Regions from separate parts of the Homo sapiens genome. Here region 2 is linked to region 1. The links are contacts of gene promoters, found by promoter capture Hi-C in human tissues and cell types (Jung and others, 2019). All regions are on one chromosome and are shown on one strand. The core of a region is centred on a gene start or on the middle of the fragment in contact, and the rest is flanking DNA. Distances in the headings are between cores, read along the strand shown. Region 1 holds the start of ASAP3 (ArfGAP with SH3 domain, ankyrin repeat and PH domain 3). Region 2 overlaps LOC124903876 (a long non-coding RNA gene).

The links. The method cuts DNA at HindIII sites, captures the fragments that hold promoters and counts their contacts. A contact is called where the count stands out against the background at its distance.
Region 2: a fragment that was not itself captured here is called in contact with the fragment with the promoter of ASAP3 in region 1 in 4 of the 25 tissues and cell types used here (IMR-90 fibroblasts, aorta, lymphoblastoid cells and 1 more).

What each region holds. Positions count from the first base shown.
Region 1 is chr1:23,481,519-23,486,415 of GRCh38, reverse strand. ASAP3 (ArfGAP with SH3 domain, ankyrin repeat and PH domain 3) reads left to right here and starts at 2,237. Exons shown (of 25, transcript NM_017707.4): 1 at 2,237-2,411. The coding sequence starts at 2,283. RefSeq lists an enhancer at 1,373-1,472 and silencers at 1,663-1,712, 1,723-1,832, 1,953-2,402. The HindIII fragment of the contact is 29,915 bases long and covers 1-4,897 here.
Region 2 is chr1:23,549,805-23,554,701 of GRCh38, reverse strand. It overlaps LOC124903876 (a long non-coding RNA gene), which reads right to left. Exons shown (of 3, transcript XR_007065537.1): 2 at 2,607-2,718. It overlaps LOC105376859 (a long non-coding RNA gene), which reads left to right. Exons shown (of 5, transcript NR_188656.1): 1 at 1-230; 2 at 2,629-2,782; 3 at 2,989-3,081; 4 at 3,246-3,937. Among named protein-coding and RNA genes, the nearest start is that of ID3, 7.2 kb to the left of the region's middle. RefSeq lists a silencer at 1-81. The HindIII fragment of the contact is 7,566 bases long and covers 1-4,897 here.

The DNA of each region.
Region 1 (4,897 bases), core at 988-3,487:
TCCCAGCTACTCGGGAGGCTGAGGGAAGTTATTGGTGATTTGTTATAGTAGCAACAGGAAACTAGTACAGAAGACATCAACATTACCGTTGGGATTGGATGAAGAAATCCAGGAAGGCTGATAGAGTGAGACATGCAGAGGATTTAGCAGAGAGCTCCCAACAACTCCAGCATTTAAGATCCCTGCGGAGGAAGTGCATCTCAGAAAGGGCTCTTGGAACAGCCAGAGGGAGAGGGCCACCAAAGAAAATAGTTCTCCTAGGATTCAGGGGCAAGGGTGTTTCAAGGAGAAGGGAGTGGTTAACATTGTCAGATGCTCCTAAAAGTCAAGCAAGAAAAGTGCCTAAGCTCAGGAGTTTGAGGCTGCCTTGAGCTATGATCATTGCACTGCACTTCAGCCTGGGCGACAGAGTGAGACCTTGTCTCTAAAAATAAATAACAAGAAAAGTGCCTATTTGGTTTCAACAGGAGAAGTTGACCTTGAAAGAACTCTTGGAATAGTTGTCGTCTCTATCAGATGGTACACATTTTTTTCAACTTTTAATTCTTTTTTCTTTCTTTTCTTTTTCTTTTTCTTTTTTTTTTTTTTTGAGACAGGGTCTCACTTTGTCACCCAGGCTGGAGTGCAATGGCAGGATCTCAGCTCACTGCAAACTTGACCTCCCAGGTTTAAGCCATTTTCCTGCCTCAGCCCACCAAGTAGCTGGGACTACAGGCAAGAGCCACCACGCCGGGCTAATTTTTGTATATTTTGTAGAGACAAGGTTTCGCCATGTTGCTCAGGTTGGCCTTGAACTCCTGAACAATCCGCTCACCTCGGCTTCCCAAAGTGCTAAGATTACAGGCATGAGCCATCGCTCCCGTCAACTTTTAATTCTATTACACAGTAGTATATGGTCATTGTATAAAAGTTAGGATATACAGATTCACCAAAAGAAAAGAAAGTTACTCATAATGTCTTCAGCTAGTGCATATCTGTCTTCAGCTAGTGCATAAAATGTTGCTGGTGCAACATTTTAGTGCATATCTTTCCGGATTTTTTCTTTTCTTTTCTTTTCTGTGCGAGAAAAGAAAAGATTCTCTCAATCGCCGCCCTGTGGGGTAAAATACCATGAGGCCATTTTAAGAGGGGGAAATGCAGGCTTAGAGAAGCAAGCAATTTATCCAAAGTAACCAAGATTGGAATCTAGGTTCCTCTGACTCCAAAACCAATGTTCCTTGCTGCGGTGCTTTCCTAGCTTTTTACTTGGAGAACTTTTCCCCAGAGGACCTCAGGCTTCAGAACTAAACCTAAGTGGATTTCTATCCTGAACCCCATCCCTCATCCGCCCCAAAGGATGGTGAGCCAGATTAAGGGGTGAAAGGCAGGAGCAGGAAGAGTAAAGGCGTGGGTGCGATCTATGGTCGGGTAAGAGGGAACTAGTACACGCACGTGTTCGGTTCTTCGCAACATCACAATCAAGCGGGCATCAGGCTTCCCATTGTACAGATAAGGAAACTGAGGTTCCAGAAGAGAAGTAATTTTCCCCAAGTCACACAGCTAGCCAGGGGCCCCGATCCACACATCCCCGGGGCGGCGGGGGTTATCAGGAGGGAGTCTCCGGATGCCTGCAAAGCTGAGGCTGAGAGCTGGGCGTACGCAGCAAAGGAGGGGTGGGGCGATTCGGGGCGGAGCGAGGCAAGGAGATTGGGCGGGACTGGGGAGAGAGGAGGGAAGGGTGGCGGGGGGGTGGTAGGGCAGAAGGGGCGAGGTCATGGGGAACTCGGAACGAATCAGCAGAGGAGGGAGGAAGAGGGAGGGGGCTCTAAGACTCGACGCGGAGATGGAACAGCCTGGGCCGTGCAAGGGAGGAGGATTTGGAAGACCCAGAGCGGGATGAAACGGGACAGAGCCCTGAAGGGGCAGGGATGGGGGAAGGCGGAGGAGTTTCTACTGAGGCCAGGGGTGGGGCATCGCGCCAGGGGGCGGGGTCTGAGGCGGTGAGGGGCTGGGGGCGTGGCCTAGGGGGCCGGCGAGGGGCCGGGGAAGCGGCCTGACGCGGTGCGGGGCCGGGACCGGGGCCGGAGCCTGGACCTTGGCGGTGGAGGAAGGCGAGGAGCCGGGGGCGGGGCCGTCCCAGCTGAGGAGCGGAGAGCGGCTGGAGGGTCGGGGGCGGGGCGTGCGGAGGGGCGGGGCGTGTGGAGGCCGGGACGGCGCCCCCGGCCGGCGGTGAGGCCGGCTCAGCGCGGAGCAGCTCAGTGCCCCCCGCGCCCCGCTCCGGCAGCTCCACGCTCGCGCCCGCCATGCCGGAGCAGTTCAGCGTCGCCGAGTTCCTGGCCGTCACCGCGGAGGACCTCAGCTCCCCGGCTGGGGCCGCCGCCTTCGCCGCCAAGATGCCCCGGTACCGAGGGGCGGCGCTGGCGCGGGAGGAGGTGAGGGGGCCGAGGCGGGAGGGGTCGGGGGTCGGCGCCGGGCCTGGCCTTGACCTCCACAGGCGTGTCGCACCCGAGCTGCGATGGCCCTTCACCGCGCCCCGAAACCTGCCCCCTCCCTAGGTCTGGGAGGACCGAGCGCATCTCCAACAGCTGCGTCCTCACCGTCGAGGCGGGGGAAGGCCCGAGGGACCGTTTTGGGGGGCCTCGAGGTCTCTTCGATGACAAACTCCACAGGTCGGGGGACGTACCCCAAGTGCCCCGCGTGACCGCCTCATCACATATGTGTTTGCCTAGCGCCTTCCAGCCTCAGTTTGCGTTTTCATCTTCGGAGCCCCACAAGTGTGCCCCCCGAGTCACTCCCCTTCTGAGAGGCAGGCTTCCCGCCTCAGTCCTGAACTTTCTTCCCCCCGGCTGCAGAGAGGCCCCCTCCCGCTTGCGGCTGGTTCGGAGATTTGGCCCGCGTTTGTGGAATGAATGCGGATGGGAAGGCGCCAGGAGCCGGGGTTCACCTTGGCCGGGCTGTTGGCAAGTTTATCGTCTCCTCTCCCCTCCCCTCTCCTCTTTGTCTTTCCCAGCAAAGCGTCCCAGGCCTTTTCTTTCGGTCTTGCAGGCTGCCCCACCCCATTCCCATGCTCTTCGGAGTTCCTTCCATTCCTCTTCTCTGAACCTGCTGCAGCTTTCCGCAGCTCCTCTGCAAAGAATATTCTAGGACAGACACCCCGTGGCCTTGGTCCAACGGAGAATAATGTGTTTTTGCAGCTCCCCATCCAAAGGATGCCCTCAATTTGGGTGGCATTTTGGACCTCAGCAACGGCTCTAGCCTTCCACCCTTCACCTTAAGTGTACTAGGCACCCACTGCGTGGCAGATACAAAGCTCAGTAGTTCATAACACCCTGCGCCAGTGTCAGGAAATCTGTCCTCTTCTCTCTTGTCAGGGTGACCCTCCATCTCGGAGTCTGTTTGTATCACTTTGTAAGGGTGATAGAGGATTGTGGAAGGAGCATCGACTTTGGGGAAGGCAGACCTTTTTTCTTTCCTTTTTTTTTTTTGAGACGGAGTCTCGCTGTGTCGCCCAGGCTGGAGTGCAGTGACGCGATCTTGGCTCAATGCAAACTCCGCCTCCCAGGTTCACACCATTCTCCTGCCTCAGCCTCCCGAGTAGCTGGGACTACAGGCTCCCGCCACTACGCCTGGCTAATTTTTTTTTTGTATTTTTAGTAGAGACGGGGTTTCACCGTGTTAGCCAGGATGGTCTCGATCTCCTGACCTCATGATCCGCCCGTCTCGGCCTCCCAAAGTGCTGGGATTACAGGCGTGAGCCACCGCGCCGGCCAAGGCAGACCTTTTTTCAAACGCTGGCTCTGCAGTTTGCCATTTGGGTGAACGTGGGCATGTGACCTGTCCTGTCATCTGTGGAATGGGGGTAATAATGTGTACCTCACATGAGACAATGCATATAAAGCATGCATCTTTTTTTTGGAGACAGAGTCTTGCTCTGTCTCCCAGGCTGGAGTACAGTGGTGCGATCTCAGCTGACTGCAATCTCTGCCTCCCGGGTTCAAGCAATTCTCATTCCTCAGCCTCCCAAGCAGCTGGAATTACAGGCATGCTCCACCACACCCGGCTAATATTTGTATTTTTAGTAGAGACAGGGTTTCACCATGTTGGTCAGGCTGTTCTTGAACTCCTGAGCTCAGGCAGTCTATCCGCCTTGGCCTCTCAAAGTACTAGGATTATAGGTGTGAGCCGCTGCACTGGCCCATGCCTCTTGATAAATGGAATGATTATCGTCAGATTAATCGGCAGATCTCTTTAGACAGTGATTGGGTCTCTTTTGTCTTCATTTGTCTCACAGAGCCTCACCTTGTCTCATTTGTCTCACGGAGCCTAGCCTACTACTTTGCACATAGTAGGGGTACATGTTTTATTAAAATAAGAAGCAGCCGGTCAGATTTGGCTTCCTTCCTTGGGCAGAGTCCACTGCCTGTGGATGTGGGTTATATTTTACTGTGGGGCTCACAGGGAAACACTGCTGTCCAGCCCATCCTTTGGAGAGCTTCCTGAGATTTGTCTTCATAGCCTCACATTTCATGACCCAGAATAGCTCAGTGCCATCCACATTCTTAGGGATTTCATGGTTCATCCTCCTCCCCAGGTTGTTCATTAGAATCTTAGAGCAGGAGAAGGGGCTCCAATATGAACCTTATCCATGGACAGAAATGCCCATTTATGCCCATACATCTGGCCTTGCCTGGCTGTGTAAGTGTAAGCACTGTGTGTTGGGGGAGGGACCCTTAGAATGGGTCTGGAGGCCACAGCAGGCTCTGTTCAGGGCTCAGCTTTGCCCCAGTTCAGGCAAGACAAAACCCATCCTCCTTTGCCTTCAGATTTTTGGTTTGGTGCACGTAGAGGTTCATTGTTACAACAGAAAGGCTTGCGGCACCCAAACACAGCTTTTCTCTTCAGCATCTCAGGGCCCAAA
Region 2 (4,897 bases), core at 1,488-3,987, 68 kb before region 1:
TCTGCGCACCCCCACCCGCTTCCTGCCCCGTCCGCGAGGCCGCCCTGGATCGCACCCGGTTCCTTCCTTCCTTCGTTCTTTCAGGCAACTCGCATTCCTCGAGCGCCTGCGACGTGCCCTGCACAGGGCCTTCCCGGCCTTCCGAGTGTGGCCCCAGGCCCGCTGGGCTCCTCCGGGAAGCCTCTGCCCTCTCGAAGTCCTTCCCCACCTCCGCCCCTCTGTTCCATGAGGTGCTTCGCTGAGAGTCGAGCAATTTAATTGTTCTCTGATTAGTTCTCCTCTTAGGGGTCAGTCAGTGGCAAGGTCACGGAGTCTCTTTGTGGCTGAGATCGGGGGTCAGAGCGTGGCCGGATTTGGGGTTTCGCCAGCCTGGGGCAGGCTTTAGGGATAAATGTGGGTAGTCAGGCTGTGGGGGTCCGTCTGTGGGCAGTGTCAAAAGCCAAGGTTAGTGAGTCCGTGTTTGGGTAGGGTCGGTGGGCAGTCGGGATCAGGGTAGTGAGACACCTTGAGACCGGGACTTTGGGGGTTGCCTTTGACAAACCAGATTAAGGAGGGAGGAGTTCTCTGAAGTCCCCTGAACTCATATTCACCTCTCGCCGTCGTTGGGGGCTGACCATAGGCGCCCCCCCGCCTCCGCCTTCTGAGCTGTGGAGCTGTGCTTCCATCGGGGGACGCCTCTCCTCACTGCTACCCTGCTTCTACTTTGTGCCCGATGCTGCAGGCAGAAGCTCTCACCCGGCCAGACTTGTCAAAGGGAGCCTGGGCTTAGAGTGAGGGTGGCCAGGGTAGGGAGGCCTTAGGCTTCCTGGGGACCCCTACCCTGAAGCCACCCAGGAAAGCAGATGTTCTTCCTTGCTGTTTAAGTCATTTGTTGTAATTCTGAAGCTTGTCAGGGATGGAAGGGCGGGCCCTTAGAGGTCACAAATGTAGCCCAGAGAGGGGCAGGAACCTGCTCAGGGACACACAGCAAGTTAGTGTTCACGTTGGGATTGGAACACCAGCCTCCCACTTTACTATCCAGGGCTCTTTTCGTGATGCTCTCCCTACCCTGAGTAAGGGTTGTTTTTCCCACTATAGAGATGGGGCAGCGGAAGCCTGGAGAGGCCGAGAGACTGCCTCTTAGCTTGAGGATCTGCAAAAATGAAGTCAGGGAAGGGTGACTTCCCAAAGCATTGTCTCTTGGCATTGCCCACCTAGCCCCCTCCCTGCCACCCTCGTTAGGAGCAAATAGAACAAGGGTGGCCAAGCATCGAGATGAGGCAGGGAGGGAGAGAACACTGTAAGAACTGCTGGGGAAAAGCTTAGCTGGGCTCTTATGGAAACATATGGAACTCATTACCCGGAGTTGAGGTGGTCGCTGGCCAGCTGGCAGTTGGTCCCTTTGGGGCTAAAAATGTGCCTTGTGTGGCAATGAGGGTACCCAAGGCACGGCAGACTCCCCAGAATAACCTCCCCACTCACCGATCCAAGTTATTTCTGAATACTGGTTTGTTTCCTATGCCTGTGCCATTTCTTTTTTTCGTCTTTTTTTTTTTTTTTAACCGAGTCTCGTACTGTCGCCCAGGCTGTAGTGCAGTGGCGCGATCTCAGCTCACTGCAACCTCCGCCTCCCTGGTTCACGCCATTCTCCTGCCTCAGCCTCCCGAGTAGCTGAGACCACAGGCACCCACCACCACGCCTGGCTATTTTTTTTGTATTTTTAGTAGAGACGGGGTTTTGCCATGTTAGCCAGGATGGTCTCGATCTCCTGACCTCGTGATCCGCCCTCCTCGGCCTCCCAAAGAGCTGGGATTACAGGCGTGAGCCACCGCGCCCGGCCTCCTATACCTATGCCATTTCTAGCATCAAAAAAAGGGTTTCAAGGCCGGGCCGGTGGCTCACACCTGTAATTCCAGCACTTTGGGAGGCCAAGGGGGGCACATCACCTGAGGGGAGGAGTTCAAGACGAGCCTGGCCAACATGATAAACCTCGTCTCTACTAAAAATACAAACATTAGCTGGACATGGTGCCACGTGCCTGTAATCCCAGCTACTGGGAAGGGAAGGTTGAGGCAGGAGAATCACTTGAACCCAGGAGGCAGAGGTTACAGTGAGCTGAGCATCTGGGCAACAGAGTGAGATTCCATCTCCAAAAAAAAAAGGGGGTTTCAAGACATGCCACTGTAGGTTATGCAGGGAAGAGATGAGAGATTCAGGACCATCAGGACAGACAACCATATTGCTCCATTCCCCACCCCACATACACCCTGACTCTCTTCATCAGGGCCAGGGGCCACCTGGTCTTACAGTGGTTCCATATCCATTGTTCATGATCCCAGCTTCCACTGAGGGTTCATCCAGGTGGGCCCCAAGGGGCCTAGATGTTAATCCCTGTCAATCACATTTTCCACTGCAGGTTCAACTCCATATACAAAGAGAACAGCAAGAAAGTGTTTCAAAAGAGGCCATTCACTAGTGGGCGGCATTTTACAGTCTATGTGGTAACGTGGACTGGTTGGGGGGTGCTTCCATTTCACCCCCCTCAGGGCTCATAGGTGTTAGGGGACCTGCTAAAGGTCACCCTGGAGTAACTGTCAGAGCCACAGTCTACAGGATGGCCTCCTTACCCAGTGCTTTGGATGTCTGCAGCTGTTTTGAAACTTCATGCAAACCGGTGGGTGCTGCAGAATTGGCCTCTTCCAGCCACAGCAGTAATCCTGTTACGTTCTCTCTGTGAGTCTGGGAAACATACAGACACTGGTTGAAACTTCAGCTTTGTCATTTACCAGCTGTGCTATCACAGGTAAGTTTTTTGTTTTCTTTTTGTTTTTTTGAGACAGGGTCTCAATCTGTTACCCATGCAGGACTGCAGTGACATGATCGCTGCTCTTACTGCAGCCCTGACCTCCCGGGCTCGAGTGATCCTTCCACCTCAGCCTTCTAAGTAATTGGGACTACAGGTGTGCGCCAGCATGCCTGGCTAATTTTTTTTTTTTGTATGTTGCTTAGGCTGGTCTGAAACTCCTGGGCTCAAGCAGTTCTCCCACATTGGCTTCCCAAAGTGCTGGGATTACAGGTCTGAACCACCGAACCGGGCCACAGGTAAGTTATTTGTCGTCTCTGAGCCTCACATGGTTGAATTGATGATTAAATTAGATGACATATGTAAAGCATCTGGTACTTGGTAGGCTCCAGATGACCCCCACCACAGAGTTTGCTGGGCTTGGTGTCAGATTCCTAGCCTTATTCCTTCTTCTTCTTTCCAGAGTGGCAATGTGGTTGGCATGACCCAGTCACAGCACCCCGGGACTCTTGTCCAGCATTGGCGCTCTATATGCAGAGCCCTTTCACTCAGCCTGGCAGCATCTGATCAGCGTCGAAGCCCAGTGGCTTGAGGAATAAATATAAACAGTGCAGAGACTAAAAGCAGAGCTCTGGTCCAGCACATCTACTCCCAAGCTCTGCCACCCTGGACAAGCTCCTTCCCCTCTCTGAGCCTCAGTCTCCTCCCTGTAATACTGTAAGAACCCTGTCCACAGTTGTGTGCCGATATACTGAATGTAAAGCACCTAAAAGCCTGCCAGGACGTGGCAGGCACTCAAGAAGCATTACTAGATTCATTTCACACATGGAGAAACTGAGTCCCAGAGTGGGAAAGTGACTCAGGCAAAGATTCCCTCACAGAACTGGGGATAAAAATCCAGATCTTCAAGCTCCCAGTCAGTGCCTAATTACTACTTTCTCATTCTTGGAATTTGTAATTATTTCATGACAAGTGTGCTTTTGGCTGCTGGAGGGACAGAGCTTCAGAGGTTGTGAGCCTCCCCTGGCTCAGCCTGACCCAGAACCAGCTCACTCATGAAACTACCCTCTCTTGAAGAGAATAGGAGTTGTGGGGAGGAAGAACATAACCCAGAGGCCAGAGAACGTGGAGGCCAGGGTTGGTGTAACTGTGTAGGTAAGAGCAGCAGCTTCGTGATCAGCCAGACCTGCATTTAAATCCTTCTCTGCCACTTCTTAGCTGTGTGACCAGCTACATGACACCACCTCCCTGAGCCTCAGGTTTTCATCTGTAAACTTTCAATGCTACCTCTCCCATAGGGTTGTTGTAGGAATTAAATAAGACAACAGAGGTAGAGTACCTGCTCCCAACTGGCAGCCCTTATAATTTCATGAAGAGGAAGCAAAAGGGGAGCCAGCTACCTTTTTTTTTTTTTTTTTGAGACAGAGCCTCTTTCTGTCACTCAGGCTGGAGGGTGGTAGTGTGATCTCGGCTTGCTGCAACCTCTGCCTCCTGGGTTCCAGCGATTCTTGTGCTTCAGCCTCCTGAATAGCTGGGATTACAGGTGGACACCACCATGCCAGGCTAATTTTTGTATTTTTAGTAGAGACGGGGTTTCACCATGTTGGCCAGGCTGGTCTTGAACTCCTGACCTCAAGTGATCCACCTGCCTCGGCCTCCCAAAGTGCTGGGATTATGGGTGTGAGCCACCGTGCCTGGCCGGAGCCAGCTACTTCTTATCCTCATTCTTGTGTATAAATCTTGTTGTAAACTTTTAAACAATTTTTTGTTTTATTTTTATTGTTTATATTTGAGACAGGGTCTCTCTCTGTCATCCAGGCTAGAATGCAGTGGCATGATCACAACTCACTGTGACCTCGGCCTTCCAGGCTCAAGTGATCCTCCCACCTCAGCCTCCCAAGTAGCTGGGACTACAGGTACCCATCATCACACCTGGCTAATTTTTATATTTTTAATGGAGACAAGGTTTTGCCATATTGCCCAGGCTGGTCTCTAACTCCTGGGCTGAAGCAATCCACTTGCCTTGGCCTCCCAAAGTGCTAGGATTACAGGTATGAGCCACCTCACCCGTCCTTGTAAACTTTTTTTTTTTTTGAGGTGGTGTCTTGCTCTGTC